Regions from separate parts of the Homo sapiens genome. Here all the other regions are linked to region 2. The links are contacts of gene promoters, found by promoter capture Hi-C in human tissues and cell types (Jung and others, 2019). All regions are on one chromosome and are shown on one strand. Each heading gives the region's core, a stretch centred on a gene start or on the middle of the fragment in contact. The rest is flanking DNA. Distances are from core to core; before and after follow the strand shown.

The links. The method cuts DNA at HindIII sites, captures the fragments that hold promoters and counts their contacts. A contact is called where the count stands out against the background at its distance.
Region 1: a contact is called between a fragment that was not itself captured here and the fragment with the promoter of EPSTI1 in region 2, in 1 of the 25 tissues and cell types used here (lymphoblastoid cells).
Region 3: a fragment that was not itself captured here is called in contact with the fragment with the promoter of EPSTI1 in region 2 in 1 of the 25 tissues and cell types used here (dorsolateral prefrontal cortex).
Region 4: a fragment that was not itself captured here is called in contact with the fragment with the promoter of EPSTI1 in region 2 in 1 of the 25 tissues and cell types used here (dorsolateral prefrontal cortex).
Region 5: a contact is called between a fragment that was not itself captured here and the fragment with the promoter of EPSTI1 in region 2, in 2 of the 25 tissues and cell types used here (IMR-90 fibroblasts and dorsolateral prefrontal cortex).
Region 6: a fragment that was not itself captured here is called in contact with the fragment with the promoter of EPSTI1 in region 2 in 1 of the 25 tissues and cell types used here (H1 embryonic stem cells).

The regions. Positions count from the first base shown.
Region 1 is chr13:43,489,427-43,492,601 of GRCh38, reverse strand. The region is part of intron 2 of ENOX1 (ecto-NOX disulfide-thiol exchanger 1); the gene reads left to right. Among named protein-coding and RNA genes, the nearest start is that of ENOX1-AS2, 42 kb to the right of the region's middle. The HindIII fragment of the contact is 3,392 bases long and covers 1-3,175 here.
Region 2 is chr13:42,990,912-42,994,059 of GRCh38, reverse strand. EPSTI1 (epithelial stromal interaction 1) reads left to right here and starts at 1,819. Exons shown (of 11, transcript NM_033255.5): 1 at 1,819-2,082. The coding sequence starts at 1,895. RefSeq lists enhancers at 1,186-1,425, 1,686-1,805. The HindIII fragment of the contact is 8,524 bases long and covers 1-3,148 here.
Region 3 is chr13:43,456,533-43,459,678 of GRCh38, reverse strand. The region is part of intron 3 of ENOX1 (ecto-NOX disulfide-thiol exchanger 1); the gene reads left to right. ENOX1-AS2 (ENOX1 antisense RNA 2) reads right to left here. Exons shown (of 4, transcript NR_120399.1): 3 at 1,209-1,222; 4 at 191-749. Among named protein-coding and RNA genes, the nearest start is that of ENOX1-AS2, 9.3 kb to the right of the region's middle. The HindIII fragment of the contact is 4,663 bases long and covers 1-3,146 here.
Region 4 is chr13:43,403,451-43,406,787 of GRCh38, reverse strand. All of the region lies in intron 5 of ENOX1 (ecto-NOX disulfide-thiol exchanger 1), which reads left to right. Among named protein-coding and RNA genes, the nearest start is that of ENOX1-AS2, 44 kb to the left of the region's middle. The HindIII fragment of the contact is 3,394 bases long and covers 1-3,187 here.
Region 5 is chr13:42,657,402-42,660,504 of GRCh38, reverse strand. No RefSeq gene overlaps it. Among named protein-coding and RNA genes, the nearest start is that of TNFSF11, 85 kb to the right of the region's middle. The HindIII fragment of the contact is 4,217 bases long and covers 1-3,103 here.
Region 6 is chr13:43,297,123-43,300,214 of GRCh38, reverse strand. It overlaps ENOX1 (ecto-NOX disulfide-thiol exchanger 1), which reads left to right. Exons shown (of 17, transcript NM_001347969.2): 12 at 1,685-1,869. Among named protein-coding and RNA genes, the nearest start is that of ENOX1-AS2, 150 kb to the left of the region's middle. The HindIII fragment of the contact is 4,025 bases long and covers 1-3,092 here.

The DNA of each region.
Region 1 (3,175 bases), core at 325-2,824, 500 kb before region 2:
ACTTTCTTGGAAAGTCCAGTCACATAATTATGTTCATTAGCTGCTTACGATGCACTGGGGTTAAGTTTTAGTTCTAATGTAAGCATTTATCAGAAGTGACCTGAGTTAAGTTTTGCTTATGTTGGCAATTTAAGCAAGATTAAGGCTATTTTTAAGACCTCTGGTTGTATTTGCTCAGGAATTTTTCAGGCCTGACCCCCTATTTTAATTGCTTAAACAACAGTCAGGAATCTGAGCATGCCTTAGCTGGGTCCTCCAACTCTGGGTCTCTCACAAGGCTTCAGTCAAAGCAATGGCCAGGCCTGTAGTCATCTCAACTAGAGCAACATCTACAGCATCTCTGCTCAACTGGGGCAGAATATATTTCCAAGCTCATTGGTTGTTGGTAGGATTTAGTTTCTCATAGGCTAATAGATAAAGGGCCCAAGTTTCTTACTGGCTGTTGTCTTGGAAAGATCCTTCAGTTTCTTTCCAAATGGGCCTCGCCATAGGGTGGTTCACAAAGTAGTAGCTGATCAGAGAAACAGGGCAAGAGAGATGTCATTTATCACTTTTGTCATAGGCGACACCCCATGCACCTGTGATGCACCTCTAGTTGAGATTCACTATATAACATAGTGAGCAGACCATTTCTACTGGATCCAAGGGTTTTGGTCAGAAATAGTCTGTTTTGAGATTACAGAGGATGGTGGGAACAGATATTTCTGGTGAATAACTTAGGTCTGATCTTTGGAAAATAGGGAGCCCTTGTAAGTTCTTTAGTAGTGGATGTACATAATTAGAGTTACATTTTAAGAATTATCTCATCTATGCATTTATTCACTTATTTTATTTATTTTTGAGATGGAGTCTCACTCTGTTGCCCGGGCTGCAGTGCAGTGGTGTTAGCTCACTGCAACCTCCACCTCCTGGGTTCAAGCCATTCTCCTGCCTCCGCCTCTCAAGTAGCTGGGACTACAGGCACACATCACCATACCTGGCTATTTTTGTACTTTTAGTAGAGACAGGGTTTCACCATGTTGGCCAGGCTGGTCTCAAACTCCTGACCTCAAATGATCTGCCTCCTCAGCCTCCCAGAGTGCTGGGATTACAGGCATGAGCCACAGTGCCCTGCCTTATTTACTTTAGTTCAAATGTTTATCACCACTATAGCCTGAGGATGACCCATTTTGGGCTCTTTTCAGGATGAACTACAAGAATAAATACTAGCTAGAAGTTATGGTTGATATGATTTGGATGTTTGTCCCCTCCAAATCTCATGTTGAAATGTGATTCCCAATGCTGAAGGTGGGGCCTGGTAGGAGGTGATGGGATCATGCGGGTGGATCCCTCATGAATGGTTTGGCACCATGTCCTTTGTGATAGGTGAGTTCTCACTAAGTCCATGCAAGATCTGGTTGTTTAAAAGAGTCTGGGACCTCTCCCTTTTCTCTCTTGCCCCTGCTGTCATCATGTGATGGACCTGCTCCCATTTGCCTTCCACCATGATAGTAAGCTTCTTGAGGATGCGCCAGAAGCAGACACCAGCGCCATGCTTCCTGTATAGGCTGAAGAACCATAAGCCAAAATAAATTTTTGCTTATGAATTACCCAGCCTCAGATGTTTCTTTATAGCAATCTAAGAATGAATTGACACAATGGTAGTGCATAAATTGTGATGTTATGAGTTGGAATGAATGGAAAATAGTGTTAACAGGTTTTCAGTGAAAGGGATAAAGAAGGATACTGTATTTATTGCAGGCTCACTCTCTTAGTCTATTTGTGCTGCTATACCAAAATACAATAGATGGGGTAATTTATAAAGCATAAAAATTTGTTTGCTTACAGTTCTGGAGGCTGAAAAGTTCAAGATGAATGCACTGGCAGGTTCAGTTTTCTGGAAAGGGAAGCTTTCTTCCAAGATGGTTATTCCGGAGGGGAGGAACCCTTTGCCCTCACATGGCAGAAGGCAGAAGAGCAATTATCCAAATGCTGTGTGAAACATTTTTTAATAAGGTCCTTAATCTCATTTACCTGGGAGGAGTCCTTATGGCCTAATCACCTCTTAAAAGCCCAATTTCTTAATAATATCACATTGCCAACACCTGAATTTTGAAGGGGACACATTTTAACCATAATATTCTACCCTGGCCCCTCTCCCAAATTTATGTCCTCTCACATGCAAAATACATTGATTCCATCCCAGTAGCCCAGTCTAAACTTGTTCTAGCATCAACTCAAAGTCTAAAATCCAGAGTCTCATCTAAATCCTCTATGGGTGAGACTCAAGGCATAATTCATGTCAAGGCAAATTGCTCTCCTGCTATGAACCTGTGAAGTTAAACAAGTTATGCGCTTCTAAAATATTAATACGATGATGGGACTGGGCGCAATGGCTTATGCCTGCAATCCCAGCACTTTGGGAGGCCGAGGCAGGTGTATCACTTGAGGCCAGGAGTTCGAGACCAGCCTGGCCAACATGACAAAACCCTGTCTCTACCAAAAATAGAAAAAAATCTGGCTGGGCGTGGGGGCAGGCACTTGTAATCTCAGCTACTCAGGAGGATGAGGCAGGAGAATCGCTTGAACCCAGGAGGTGGAGGTTGTGGTGAGCCGACGTCATGCCACTGCATTCCAGCCTGCGTGACAGAGCGACATTCTGTCTCAAAAATAAAGTAAAATACAATGATGGGACAGACATAGGATAGACATTTCCATTCCAAAAGGGAGAAATAGCAAAGAAGAAAGGGGTAACAGGTCCCAAGTAAGTCTAAAACCCAACAAGGCAAACATTAAATCTTAAGACTTGAAAGTAATCTTTTACTTCATATCTTCTTCAAGACATACTCAGCTGGGTTGGGTCTCCAAGCCTCCAGGAGACCCTTCTATGACAATATTGTTGAGCATAGCCCATGAAGCAGCTCTCGCGGGCTGGAGTTCAGCCCTTGTAGCTCTCTCAGGCTGGAGTTGCATGCTGTGGCTCTACAATAATGGGATTTTATGAGTGAACCTGCCCCCATGGCTGCACTAAGGATTGCCCTACTGGGGACTCTCTGCAGTGGCTCTGACCCCACAGTTCCACTAGTCATTGCACTAGTGAAGGGTCTCTGCCATGGTCCTACCTCTGTGGCAAGCAAGTTCATGCCTAGGTCCCAAGGCTGCCTGAGACATCCTTTGAAATCTAGGCGGAAGCAGC
Region 2 (3,148 bases), core at 570-3,069:
GCCTTAGCTCAGATCTGTATTTCTTACCTAGACGTAACTAGGCTCTGAATTTATCTTCCCGATTTCAGTCTCTTCATCTTTCAATCTCCGTTTTCACATTGTTAGAAGCTAACTTTGTAAAACAGATATTATTGAGTAACTGCCCTATTGAAAAACTTCCTGTGCCTTCCACATTGCCTACAACAGTGGTTCCCAAAGGGTGATCCTGAGACTGGCATCATTGGTATCACCTGGAAATTTGTTAGAAATGCAAATCCTTGGGCCCCATCCCAGACCTGAATCAGAAACTATATATATATATTTTTGAGATGGAGTCTCTCTCTGTCGCCCAGGTGGAGGTGGGGTTTCGCCACGTTGGCTAGGCTGGTCTTCAACTCCTGATCTCCAGGTAATCCTCCTGCCTCGGCCTCCAAAAGTACTGGAATTACAGGAGTGAGCCACCGTGCCTGGCCATAAATCTGTTTTAACGCACCCTCCTCCAAGTGGTTCTGATGCTTACTGAAATTTGTGAAACTCTGGCCTACTCTACAAAACCCTAATGTCTTAGGATGGCATAGAAATCCTGACTGACTTTCCTACCATGTTCCTTGTCATTATTTTCTCCTCTCCTGTCCCACCCTGGCCCACCCTTCAATTTCATTCTTTCATTAGCTATCAAACCTGTATGTGTCTTTTTGTTCTAAGCACCAATAATATAAGGAAGACAGTCCAGCTCCTAACTGTCTTGCTGACCTAGGACTGGGGTGCTCCAGCCACATGACAACCCCTGGAATTAAGTACACACCATGTCATTTTAAGTGACAAGCCTCTGCCATAGCATCTCCTTCTTCTTGGTGAATTCCTATGTCTTTGGTGGCTCATTCTCAAATGTCCCTGTTCCTGAATTACTCAGAGGGCTAATCCCCAGTTTCTCTGTGCCTCCACAGCTGCCTGTCATTTCATTTATCCCAAAGTGGCATTCCCATTTGTTTACCTGTCTACTAGGATACTCCTAGAATGCAGGTAGCATGAGGGAAGAGCCTTCACTCATCTTTGTGTAGACGGCATTGTGACCCTGGTGACCAACCCTGGCACACATCAGAATCATCTGGGAGCTTTTCAAAAATATGAATGCCAGAGCTCACCCCTGAACCTACAGGAACTGAGCCTTACACATCCATATTTTAAAATGTCCCCACATCACCGTTGCACACTGTTCTGCACAGAGCAGGTATTTTTAATAGTTCTCGAATGTCTAGTCAATTACTTAGCAAGGCTGCCTGGAGAATCATGTCTACCTTAGCTTACTTCTCCGGCTTTGTAGGTTTTTGTTTTCTTTTGATTTCAGTTTCCATTTCCTCTAACTTGAAAGTATGTGCATTGGTAACAGCCACACAGCAGTCATTACTGATAAAAGGCGACATTTTGTTGAGATGATTTTAGTTATTGACCTAATCTCTGGTATTTTAAGGTTAATATATTTTTTACAGTCTCAAATATCCAGCGGTAACCTCAAATTAGAGTTGCCTGTTAAACAGTTTCTCAAGTATCTTTCAGGATTGTAGTCACTCTGCGGGCTAATCGCTCACCAGGTGTCCGTGGCTGATCCCAGTTATTCTGATTAACCTCTAAGGTGATTGTGAGACTTTAAACCGTCTCACCTGTAGCCGACCAAGCCAGCTCAAGTCAACATCCTGGGCTGTTAACCCGCGATAAGGTCGGACGGGGCCTCAGTGGAGAATACGTGGGGAAGTTCTCTGGGGCGGGCGCAGTCTGCTGCTGATTCTGAGAAACCGAAACTCAGCTGTTAAAACCGCTGCCTCTGCACTTTGGAATCCCATCTTGAGACTCGCTAAGCGTCCCAGCCGCATCCCTCCCGCAGCGACGGCGGCCCGGGACCCGCGGGCTGTGAACCATGAACACCCGCAATAGAGTGGTGAACTCCGGGCTCGGCGCCTCCCCTGCCTCCCGCCCGACCCGGGATCCCCAGGACCCTTCTGGGCGGCAAGGGGAGCTGAGCCCCGTGGAAGACCAGAGAGAGGGTTTGGAGGCAGCCCCTAAGGGCCCTTCGCGGGAGAGCGTCGTGCACGCGGGCCAGAGGCGGTGAGTATTTTAACAACCTGGCTTCGGGGCGGGAGCCCGGGCCCCAAACATACTCACTCACAAGCACCTTGGTCCTTGGAGTTTAAAACCACAGGGGCCCAACAACAGGGATTTTGACTGAATGAAAGCTCATTTGCTTAAATGAAAGTATCCATGCCGCACCTTATAAATTGAGTCGGCTAGTTTGCAGTCCTTTGGTAAATAACCAGCCCGGTTCCTTCCAGGAATACTACTTTCCTGATTTTTGTGACTGGCTACAGGATTGAAAGATATGGGTGTGTCGGAACTGCCTAGGCATCCAGTAAGATGTCATTTTCCAGGTATCTCCAGAACTCATACTCCAACCAGTATGGAAATAACTTTTCCCTTACTGTTTTTAAAAATTTGGTGCTGGGCCAGGCGCGTTGGCTCAAGCCTGTTATCCCAGCACTTTGGGAGGCCAAGGCAGGCAGATCACCTGAGGTCAGGAGTTCGAAACCAGCCTGGCCAACATGGTGAAACCCAGTCTTTACTAAAAATAAAAAATAAGCTGGGTGTGATGGCACGTGCCTGTAGTCCCAGCTACCTGGGAGGCTGAGGTAGGAGAATCGCTTGAACCCGGGAGGCGGAGGTTGCAGTGAGCGGAAATTGCGCCATTGCACTCCAGCCTGGGCAACAGAGCGAGACTGTCTCAAAACAAAACAAAACAGAAAAACAAAACTTGGTGTCCTAAACGGAATTACTGTATCAGACACTAACAGGTAAGGGTCAACAAGAAATGTGATATGGGGTAGAAGGTTCAAATTCTGCCTCTAGGTAGGAGCAAGCCTACGTCCCAGCAAGACTCGCAGATAAACTAGCCTCTTACAACCAGAGGAGTGGAGCTGAGAGAGTGAGGAGGTGAGTGACCATAGTACCTCTCATCCCTGATGTTGATATGTGCTCTATGCAGGAACAGATAGGTAGCTTTTATTCCTGGTCTTTGGTTCAGGGACTGCAGTGAGTATCCGGGAAACATTTATTAAGCAAGTGTCATGAGCCTCTCTTTCTAGCCAATGGAATGAACTTTAACTCAACAGTATGGTTT
Region 3 (3,146 bases), core at 367-2,866, 470 kb before region 2:
GATTATTGACAGCTACATAGAAAATTACTGACAGAACTAACATATGGCTCCTAGATCATTTTCTGGTAGGATCTTTGGCCCTTTTCCTACTCTACATCCTTTTAGTCCCAGTGACGTTTAGCATAGTACCCTCCTTTCAGATAAAAATAAGTGTTGTTAGATTGATAGAAAAATGAAAGTATTTTACTAATAAAAATACTTTTAGCAGTTTATTGTATAATGATAGCATTAACATTTTTTCATCATGAATGTCCATTTGAGTTTTATGCTGGTATCATGGTATAGTCCTGCAACCTAAGGATTAACTTATCTCTGTTATTTTCTGTTTTGATTGAGCACTGGGTAGCCAGTCTGACCACTACATAGTTGATTCATGTTACTTATTGATTGCCAAAATTGCCAGAGGTACCCTGGTCATTCAACTGTCTTTATAATCAAGGCAAATCCACTATGCAGCAATTCAGTCAATGGTTTGGTGTTCATCTGTCTAAAATGTTGATGGTACCACATAGGGACAAGATAAAATAGCTCATTTCATTGAAATCGTAATAGATTTTTCTCCCACTCTAAAATTTGTATGCTGCTATAGGAGGGAGCATCAATCAATCAAAATTAGCACATATTCTGTTGTTCTTTTCTTCCTTAAAACATTTAGCTGAAGTTGTAGAAACTCAGAGAAACATATGTTAGAGTGGGAAGTCGCAGAGCAACTCATCCAGTCTTTTCCAAAGTATGTCAATAAATATTACCTGAAAGAAAAGAAAAAAGGGGGAGAGTCTGTAGTCAAGTAAGTTTGTATAACGGAAGGTAAAACAAAATGGGACAGATACCTTGAATAAACTCATATGTGTTTCAAAGCTTCAAGAATGGGGAGGGGGAGGTGTGAGACGATCGAGGTGTGTTTCAAAATCATCTAACCACAGAACTCTTTGTCCTGAACACTTGGAGGGACTTCATATAACCTCCTAATTTTGTAGTTAAATAGAATTCTAAAGGGGTCAAGAAACTGATGCTGGGCCAAATATTTTCCTTTATTGTTTTTGTCCAGTCCTCCCTTTCCCCTACTTATATAAAAGTAGATAGCAATATAATGATTTTCTTAATATAATCAATATATCAATATAATGATTTTCTCAATTTTCTGTAAGAGCTCTGCACACCCCTTTTCAGTGGCTAACTGATGCGTTGCTTCCAGGTGACCAGCTTACCAGTGATGCGATGCCTAAAAAATGGAAATGAAAAATTAGTCAGTTGGAAAAGATGTACTTTTAGACAGCTTAAGGTTTCAATATCATCTCATATTCTGACTTGAATAGCTTTTTTTAATTGGGTACCTACAGTATGCCAGGTGCTTTATATGCATTGTATGATTTAATTCTCATAAAATCCTGCAAAATAGAGAATATGTCCATTTTCCTATCGGGGAGTTTATTTAGTAAATGGAAGACAGGGGATTTAAAATAAGGTCAATCTGACTGTAAAGTCAAGCTTTTTGTTAAGCTCAAAGATATGATGATGGCTACATTGGAAGTGATGTTGTTGACAACATAGTTAACTTTTTTAAAAAAGTTATTGGTCCATAATTGAGTATGACAGAGGATAGAGGACTACATAATTTGAGCTAGACAAATTTATAAGAAATATAAGCAGGAAAATAAACATATATTCAAGTAAAAGGATTACCTGCAAGCTAACATAAATTTCTTTGGGAGATGAGGGGAGGAATACACACATATATACCTTGGTACATACATATACACATATATTCTTGAGCCAAAAAATAGATATATTTCAGAGTGGTAAGAGTCAGTATATAGTTAGAAGTTGGTCTGGACATGTAATTGTGAAAAATCATTATGTGATAGGTTCTGTTGCAGGCTATACTGCTTTTCATATGCATTTTGGGTACATTTTGTTGACTGATAAAACGTAGTTTGACCATTAACATTCAGTGACATAAATTGCTTAACTGCCTTCCAAGTCAGTGATCATTGTTTGGAATTATCTTAAAGCCAGATGATTTTCCGAAATTTATCTTCTTATTTAGTGAACATACATAGCTTTTCTTAGTATAGTTATTTAGTTGGGCCAGTCTTCCTGCTGTTCTGTTTTAAAATCTTTTATGTCTGTTTCCTTTTTCTCCTTCCCCCTCCCTCCCTTTCTGCTTTCTTTCTTCCCTCCTCCTTATAGTCTTCCTTCCTTCTTATTGATAAATTGATATGCGTCTACCTCAAATTGATTATTTGTCCAAACTTCTGGAGCCAAGATAACAAAATGCTGTTATCTGGATAAAGATAACATTTATGGAAAGTCAACTTGACCTTGCCTGATAATCCCTAAAAAATAACAAAGAAGTAAAATGATTTTGTCAATACCCTCCTTAACAGTAGTTGTGAGGTGGTTACTAGTTTGTCCAAGTAACTCATAAAGTTCTCTGGACAAACAAACTAGACCAAAACAAAATACATAAGTACATATAACTACAAAGTAAAATGTATAACACTAGAAACTTCTGGTTTTATTAGATTGAACACATGCTTTCATATCTTCCTGTTCCAGAAATCTCACTAAAATTAGTAAAGAATAAAAAATAAATCTCATTAAAATTAGTAAAGAACAAAAAATAAATCTCACTGAAATTAGTAAAGAATTTTAAAAACCACAAAGCAGGGACACAAAGCAAATGAGAGAACAGAGGAGAGGCTACTGAATGTGAGATATCAGGCAATTTGTGGAAGACAGCAGAGTGATGGAGGAGGAATAGCTGAGGTGCACTGAGCAAAGCCTTCAGATTCATGCACGGGATGCTGTGGAGGCTTAGGAGTCATGAGACTGGAAAAAGGAGAATTGATTGCCAGGAGCTTCAGACCAACAGAGTATATGGAGTAGTTAGGCCCTGCCCTCCCTAGCTCACACTGACTCTACCAATTCCCCAACCCTATGTGAGGTATCAGGGATAGTCTTAGGCTACATTGAATCAGAGATACTCTAGACTCAGGGATTGGGCCCAGGAGAGAGGATGAAACTCCACAGAGAGAACAGGTGAAACCCTCCTGGACTATTCCCTGACATAGCTCCCAGGGAACCTACAGCTAGGGACTGGCTCCTTAGGCAGGGGTTTGGAGATTCTTATCTGCAGAAACTCA
Region 4 (3,337 bases), core at 241-2,740, 410 kb before region 2:
GGCGCGGTGGCTCACTCCTGTAATCCCAGCACTTTGGGAGGCTGAGGCAGGCGGATCAAGAGGTCAGGAGATTGAGACTATCCTGGCTAACACGGTGAAACCCCATCTCTACTAAAAATACAAAAAAATTAGCAGGGCATGGTGGCGGGCACCTGTAGTCCCAGCTACTCGGGAGGCTGAGGCAGGAGAATGGCGTGAACCCGGGAGGCGGAGCTTGCAGTGAGCCGAGATGGCGCCACTGCACTCCAGCCTGGGTGACAGAGTGAGACTCTGTCTCAAAAAAAAAAAAAAAAAAGACAACATACTTCCCAATTAACTACATAGAGCCACATCCTTTATCAGTGACTAATTTGGAGCCAACAAAAGACTTCTTCACACTTGTAAGGGTCTATCAGCACCCTTAAGTGTTCCTTGGCTCATACCTTGCTGTTTCTTTTTCAGAAGCTCTGGGTTCACTGTCACTGCTTCTGTTTCCTGCCATTCTGAGAAGAACTTAGCTTTCTATCTCATGGAACGCCAAGATAGGTTGCAAGTCCTTCTCCGTCCCCTTCACTACCCTCTCCCATTCACTGGTGTTTCCACTTATTTTCATTCTTCTCTGCTTCCTCAGAGTACTTTTTTCTAATTTCCTTCTTGGGTTGTTTAATCCTCACAGGAACACCTTTATCCTCTTTAATATGCCCAGATATGAAGAGGGATTTGTTAAATCCTTTCATCTCCTCAAGCATCACTCTTTTAACTGAGATTTATTGAGCCAGATGTTATGCTAAATACTGGGAATACAGGACATAGACCTTACTGTCATGCTTTAGAGTGGCGGGAGAAACAGAAAAGAGTAAATACACAAAAACAAATTAACATGATAAGTGGTTATGCTACTAATAGATAAAGGGTGCTATAGGATGTCACTGAAGAAAGTTAAGCAGGGGAGTAGCAGGATCAGAATTATATTTTTACAGAGCATGTTTGTAACCCCTATAGAGGACTGATGGGGGTGTGGAAAGGTTGGCAACCAGACAGGAGTTACCCAGATAAGAGACAGTGATGGCAGTAATGCCAGCGATTATCCTGAGCAGTACAGATGGAGTAACCTGAAGGGATTCATGAGACATTTCATTGTAGAAACCACAGGAATGGATGACTAAGACCACATGGAACATAAGGAGAGTGAAGAATCAACAGTGACTCCTAGGCTTCTAGACTTGCAAGTGGGGTTAACCATAGAGCCATTTGCTTAGAAGGTGGGGAAGGCTGAAAGAGAAGGATGGGTAAGATGGCTCATTTCCTTTTGGATATGTTGAGTTTGAGGAACCTGTTGAAAGAAAACCTGTGTTGAGCAGGGAGATTTATGGGCCTGGCAAGCAGGAAGGAAGGCCTGATGGAGGTATGGCTTTGGTGGCCACAACATAGGGATGGTTGTTGACGCCCTGGGGACCGTAACGCCCAGACGCACCTCTGCTGTGAAATTAGGAAGAAGCTCTCAGATGCTCCTTCAAGTTTCAGCCTACCCTGCAGCCAGGTCTCCAGATCCCTCTCTTGTGTCCCACTACATTCCTACTATTTCAGGGCTCCAAGATTTGAAATGAGAGAAGTGGTCAGAGATAAAAAAATAGAATCTGGAAATCCTGCCTGAAACTGTCTCTTCAGCTTACAAATACACTCAGGACTGTCTGTTGATAAACCACCCCACATGCTTGTTTTTAAAATGAAAATCATACTTATACCAGCAAAGTTTCTTTCTTTAGTCCCTTCAGATATTAATGGTGGCATTCTCTGACACAGCCATGATGAAGGGGATACAGACAGCCTGGCGGGTACCAGTGGGGGTCTCTAAAGGATGATGCTCAGAGTTCTCTTTTGTTTTTATTTTCCATCTTGTTGAAAGATTTCTCACTATCAAGTGTCAGAAAACAAATAGGCCCTTGACTTATGTTTCACAATTTATGTACCTGATTTCATGTACTTGTGACAGTTCTGTTACACTCTATGCATTTACTTACCCTTTCTTCCCCAGGACATTAGGACATTACATTGGTATATTTATTTACTCACCACAGTATTACAGCATTTTTTACAAGGCACTAGAGGAACAGCAATTGGCCTGACCGACCAGTGATGCTCTTATGGAGAACACGTATCTCTAAAGAAGATGTTATCAAATAATTATACAAATGACTAATTATAATTGTGGGATGTTACAAAGAGGAATTGGGAGGCTAACTTTGTTTGGAGGTATTGGAGAAGCTTCAGAAAAGGTTCCCCTAAAGTAGTAATATTCAAACTAAGACCTAAAGGATAAATTAGACTTATCTAGTTAGCAGGAAGGAAGAGCAGAAAGAAATGGAGAATTTGAAAAGATGAGAAAGTTCTAAAAGCAGAAAATGTCCTGTTCAAAGACCTGAGATGAAAGGAGCTTATCCTCTTCAAAGAAGAGAAAAGTGGGTGTATGTGGGCCAGAGGTGGTGGTTGGGATGGAGTGGGATTGGCAGGTTGGTGCTTAACTCAAGTCTGGTAGGATAGGCTGGGGCCAGACCATGCCTTCCAAAGCTTGGAGTACAGACTTTATTTGAAGTGCAAACTACTGAAGTTTTAAGGAGATAAGTGACCTGTGACTCGTGTGTTTTGTTTCTTTATTTCTGCTAACAAAAAAGCATCTGACTTGTTTTATAGAGACTGCATTGAAGAATGGCAAGAGGGGAGGGAGGCTGGGTTTGTATCTAGAAGGCTGCTGTCCAAAAAGGGATGGCAGAGGTAGATGGGGCAGAGGTAGATGGCCTAGATACATCCAATGGGACTGGAATATGGAGCACCTGCCATGTGCAGGCACTGCCATAGACGCTACACATGCTGTCCTGCAACTTGCATCCTAGTGCTAAGCTGATGTGTGTGTGTCTACAATATTTCTTTTGTTTCTTTTTCTTTCTTTTTATTTATTTATTTTTTTTTTTGAGACAAGATTTTACTCTGTCATCCAGGCCAGAGTGCAATGGCCTGATCACAGCTCACTACAGCTTCAACTTCCCGGGCTCAGGTGATTCTCCACCTCAGCTTCTCGAGTAGCTGGGACCACAGATGTGTGCCAGCTAATTTTTTGTATGTTTAGGAAAGATGGGAATTCACACCATGTTGCCCAGGCTGGGCTCTAACTCCTGGGCTTGATCAAGCAATCTGCCCGCCTCAGCCTCCCAAAGTGGTAGGATTACAGGTGTGAGCCACTGCACCCAGCCTGTCTACAGTATTTCTAGAGATAAGAGAATGTGTAAAATCTGTTTCCAAAAAAGATTTGCTTTGGCCTATCCCATGTACTATATAAGGTAACTGACATCACTTAAAGCAA
Region 5 (3,103 bases), core at 407-2,906, 330 kb after region 2:
TTCAATACCCACAAGCATTCATCACAGATGCCAGCAAGATCTTGTTTTTATCATTAATTAATCTCCAGAGTATTAAAGCTTTTATTGGCATTATAGGAATGCAAGCCACCATGCTTAACTTGCACCTGTTCAAATTACATGGAATAGCACGCTCAGATTGGCTTTCTAACATCTCCATGGAAATGCCACTGTGAACATGTGTTTATTTGATTCTTGGAGCACCTGAGGAAGGTTTTTTCCTTATTTAAGTTCCTATCTAAACCTAGGATGAGCTCTCCTTGCTTCTGGGGCCATGGCTTTGCTCTCACTGTGCAGGTATTATCCCAGCCTCTCCAAAAATAAAAAAGAAAAAGAAAGAAAATAAAACTAGGATGAAATCCATCTGGCTCAGGTGTCAGGTTTTGAAAAACAGGTGGATGGATGTCATGTATAAAAATAGAAATGCTATTGTTATTCTGCTTATAACTGTTATTCCTAACTGAAGTGAGAGAATAGACAAGAAAACGCTGTTTCCCAAAAACTCATTTTCTATTGAATAGTGCAGATCAGTTCAGTATGGGGCAATCTGAAAAGATGACCTACACATCAAGATGCCAGTATTTTAAAAGAGGAATTCCAAATTGTCATTCTAGTCAAGCATTTAATAACTATCTAGCATTATGCTAGAGACTCTGCATGAAGCTGTCCTGTGGCCCCTAAAATGATTGGGACAGTTATAGCTTGAAGACTTTGTAGGAGGAAAAATGTTTCAAAGAATGATTTTAAAGGAGTGTGGGATATAAAAACAAGATGGAGGTAATTTTGATGATGATGATAGCTAACATTTACTGGACATTTACCATGTGCTAGGTACTGTTTAAATATTGTACATGAATAAACTAATTTAACTCTCATGTCAATTTAATGAAGTAGATTTAACTGCATGTCAATTTAATGAAGCTAGATTTCTCCTCACCAAAGGAGAAACTGAGACAGAGAGGGGATTAGCAACTTGTCCCATGTCAAATAGTTAGTCAGCAACCACTTACTAAAGAATCTCAGGTCAAAGAAAACTGAAAAAATAGGGATTTGCCATGATGAAGTCGTAATGGACCAAAGCTAGGATCAGGGCATGAACATCAGATTCATTCACTCATTCATTCAACAAATACACAATTACTTCAACACCTATCCTCTGCCAGGTATCATTGTCATGGCAACGGATTGAACAAAACAAACTCCCTGGCATTGTACAGCTTGCCTTAGAGTGGGGCAGATACTACACAGAAACATACTATAACATCTTGAGGTGGTTAAAAAAGCAGAATAGAGTGAATGAATGCTTGGGGACACTGTGCTAGGCTCAAATGAATACAAGATGAAATAATTGGTACCTGCCCCTCAAAGCACTTTGAGCCTGATGAGGAACAGACAGACTCAGTGACTTGTGCTATGGGAGAGGAGAGCACAGGCTGCTTGGAAGCATGTAGGCTTCCCCATCTAGACTGGCAACGAGGCTTTCAAAGGAGGCTTCTCACAGTTGGTGATGTCTCCACTGAGAATTATAAAATAATAGAATTAACTAGACAGGAAGTGTGGGGACATTTAAGGAAAGAATAAACACAAAATACTCAATTTGAGAGTTGGGCAAGCTCTGGTAACTGAAGGAAGCTCCATGTAATGGGATCTTAGGTTAGATGCAGGAGAGTGGCTGAAAATAGGGGGGTCTGCAAGTTTGAGCAGAGGTCAAATCATACGAAGCCTCGCATGCCCTGAGATGAAGTAGATGCTAACTAATTCTGAGGGCCGTGAGTAGACACTGAGGGGTGGTGATGGGAAAAGATGAGACAGATTCTGTTTTCTGCAGAGAGCACTCCAACAACGATGTGTCTCATGGGCTGGAGGGGACAAGGTAAAGACAGGAGGATAAGCACGGAGACCGTCACAGCAGTCCAGGGGAGAGAAGAGGGGCTTGGAAAAGAGGATCCCCGTCTGCAAGACTCTTAGAAGAAAGGTGGTGGTTTATTGGATTTGGGGGAGGAATGGAAAGTAAAGGGAAACAGGAAGATGTGCAGGTGGCTGGTGTGGGGGACTGGGAAGGCCGTAGTGTCATTCACAAGAAGAGAGAATACAAAAGGAGGGGCAGAGTTAGATGTTGGAGTGCTTGAAGCTTACTAGACATTCCCGCCATTCCAAACATCACTGTTTCTCCATCACGCATGCCATCATCTCTGTCTTCTCCGGGTGTTTGAAAAGGCTGTGGCCCTTACCTGTTTTCCCGCATCTTCTGTGGCCTCTCCCTGAGCTTGTCTCTGGGCAATCCCTCCTCATAACTCAGGTCTAGACTCCAGTGTCACTTACTTCCTCGCCTCCACGGCCCCAGGCAGGGTGGAGCTCCTGCGTGTGCTCCCCTCGCAGTGATTCTCCCTCTCGGCAGTAACAGTTTCTTCTCACTTGTCTCTGTCCAAAACTAAATAATAAACTCAGCCCAGATTCTCCACTACACACTTCCTGCCTCATGGTACATCCTCCAGAAATACTTGGACGTCTATATGAATGAGTGTCCTGTAAATCCCTAGATATATGGACACCAAGCTCAAAAGAAGGATCTGAAATTAGAGGTATGGATTTGGGCGTCATCAGCTGGTGGAAGCAATTTCCCTTCAATTGATGACCCCACAGCCCTAGGAGAAGAAAGTGGTTGTTTTTTTTCCAATATCATCCTGAAGGGCAGTGCCAAAAAAAAAAAAAAAAAAACCCCCACATATTTATTGTGCTCAAAACACCTTACATGTATCTTCTTTTTATGCTTTCTGTCTTCCCAGAAAAGCAGGTGGTGGTGTGCACTCGTTTTCCTTCTTTTCTTCCTCTCTCTATTGATTCCTTTTCTGCTCAAATAAAAGGCTTTTCACACTAATAGCAAAGACAACATAGACACACTGAAATGATACACAAAGAAGATCTCTTTCCTCAATTTCAGGGAATGGCTTTTCTTTAAAAACAAAGGTAAAAAACGATCTCCTTTCTCCCACTACCCTTCCAAATCCTCTCCCATCTCTGGGGACCTTCATGTCTTTTAAGTCTCACATTTCTCTGTGTCCTGCTTAACCTAAGTTTCTGTTTT
Region 6 (3,092 bases), core at 165-2,664, 310 kb before region 2:
GGTCTGAGATGCCCTCACGGACCTGAGCACAGTAAATATGAAGTAAATGCGTGTTAAGTAATTGATCCCTACTGGCTTGAGGTAGGGAAATTTCTGGGTAATTGCATGTTCTGTCTGATTAGTAGTTCAGTGTGTACTACACAGAGATTATCATTTTGCAAGATGGAGTACTGTAAAACACTCAACTATAAAACTATTATTAACATAATTTGACATTTGATATTTGAGGAGAGAATTCACTGTGGTCTCAGAGAACCTCAGTAAAGCTTTATCACCATGGAACTGTAATGTGCAGGTAGAACACTCAGGAGGCGACCTTGATTTGGTCCTCTGACACGGGGAGCGGGGGCTGGAAACGCGCATGCACTGACGACCTGGTGTGCAGTGGGCTCCACACCGTGCCCTTATCTACTGGAAGTTACATGTTTGAAGTTTCTGGTAACAAGCGTTTCAAATTTTCTTTCACTTTTCTCTTGCTTACACAAGTGGGGAATGGCTTTTCTGTGAGGGGGAAGATTAAAGGGAGAGTGGTGGGAGAGTTGGTGGGGGAATGTGAGACTGGTTTTGAACAGCCTGGTAAGAACTAAACACATGGACCGATGGTAATCGAGAGCAGAGACTCTGGAGCCTGCAGCCTGGGTGTGAAGGCTTTCTGCTACTTACTTTGTGGGATTGGATGAGTTACATAACTTCTCTGTGCCACATTTTTCTCATCTGTAAAGATGAGCATAAGACCAGCACCGGCATCACAGGCTTGGTGGGGGTATGAAGTGAGTGAGTTCATACAAAGCTCTTGATCCAGTGCTTTATGAGTGCTCAGCAGGCTATGTTGATTTTCGGAGAGACCCCTAAGCAATAAGGTAGAAACTAGGGAAAGGGATTTCCCTACCCTCAATCTTTGTTTGGTACCATTTGTTTCTTTTTCAGTTTCGGCTATTTCTGAAGCCTTGAGATGTGTGAGACCCTGAGTTAACTGTCTTGGTTTCTTAATAAGATAGACATATGAATGAAGTCTGAATCTAAATGTGGAGAATTTGGGGTTTCAGGGAGAGGTATTAGAGTAACCACTCAGCCTTGTAGAGGAAAAGAGTTTTAATCTGTTGGTGAAACAGATGGAACTAGCTTCCCATTCTGATAGGAGTTGGAGGAAAACAATCTGTGCAATTTGTCCCAGCAGTAGAGCAGGAAGGAGTGGTGTGCATATAATTTCCTCTCTCCCCTGGGATGCTGCCGCATGTCTCAACCTGTGGAACTGCTGATTATTTGAAAGCAAGCAGCCCTCCAAGTAGCTAAGCAATCCCGTAGAAAGGGGGAAGACAATATTTAGTAGATATGATTGTTGCCTGGAATTCTAAATGTTGTCACCACCTAGCACCACATACCAATGTCTGTGAGGGTGTCTAGCATTGAGGGAGAGGTCAAGGGATGAGAATTTGGGAGGAATTAATCCTGTGCCCATAAGAAACATTCACATGTAAGACAGGACAAACAGAATAGATAAAAGTTCCGAGAGAAGTGATGCATACCGACTACAAAAGAGAGGCCCAGGGAGTGGCATTTTGCTTTTATTTCTGAGCTGGTACAAACATTAAGAACTTGGGTGACAGACTCCCTTTCCCACAGAAGGCCTCCTCAAGCTAAGCAAGAAGGTAGCTCACCTGAACTCGTTCTGTTTGTCCCTCAGCCCTGGCTGCCCAGGCCTACGCTCTGAAAGAGGAGAATGACAGTCTCCGCTGGCAGCTGGATGCCTACAGGAATGAGGTGGAGCTGCTGAAACAAGAAAAAGAACAGCTTTTCCGAACAGAAGAAAACCTCACCAAGGACCAGCAACTGCAGTTTCTGCAGCAAACCATGCAAGGCATGCAGCAGGTACCTGGCCCAGATTTTTTTTTTTTTTTTGAGAGAAAGAGATATGTGTATTAAATGAAAATGGAAAGGCAGCCGTGTGCTGGAAAGGGTGAAGGAGAAGAAATGACAACCAAAAAGCTATGTTACTAGGACAGAAAAGTGCTAATGACTGTTTGTGGAAGGGTAGAATCTGGAGAAAAGCCAAGCCAATAAAATATGTTGAAGAAATCACCCTGGAGGTAGGAAATAAAGGAAAATGATTTGGATTTAGGAGATTGAAAGGCTGCATGTGAAATATAGCCCCATGGCAAATACCTAGCAGATCCCTGCATGATACAAGCATTTTGTAATCTTAGAACTTTTAACTTCAAAGCACGACAACTGATTTTACAAAAGCAGTTTGTTTGTCTGTCTTCAAGGTTAGTGTAAATGTAAATTATATTGTTTCCACTTTTTCTGTATTACACTTAGGATCTAGTCAGGTTCTTTGAGCACATTACGTGTTTAAGAAGTGTTTGTTGATGGAATACATGAAGCATCAGAGTTTTGGGGGATAAATAACTTTAGAAACAGGGCAATAGCTGTGTTTTTGTTGAAGAGTGCCAGACCTCATCCTGGCATACTGAATTTAAAGATGTATATTTATGGCAATTGTTAAAAAGGAAATGAAAGTTGAGGGCTTTGGAGTAGGGAAAAGGAACAGGTACTGTGGGATATAAAATGTCGACAGGAGGGGAAAATCTGACTGTTGGCAGTGAGGGAATAGAGTCAAAGATTCACAGTCAGATTTGTATCTGAAAACGTCAATTGGTACCTGATATTCTTAAGGTGTTTGGGCCTTTGAGTTACCTTAGAATAACAGAGCATATATTATCATCATGGGTATTTTTAAATTATCCCTCTGAATATACAAATCCAATCAATATTTTCTGAAAAAAAAAAGATTGTTTTTATTTAAACAAGGGAAATATAAGTAGAATGATGGAAAGTTAAAATATATAGAGTCAATTTTTTTTAATTCCCCCATCCATATTGACTGCTCTGTAACATCCAGAGCATGGATTGCCTACAGAAGTATCTTAGTGATTAGAGGTAACTACTACAGATACATCAACCTAACAGGGAAAAATAATTGAGAGGGAGAGTATAAAAAAGAATCACGGATTGGGAAGTGAACAAGTTAATAACCAACTCGTACAAATTATATCTTAAACATCTTCTGCCATTTTAAAGCAATTTTTGAG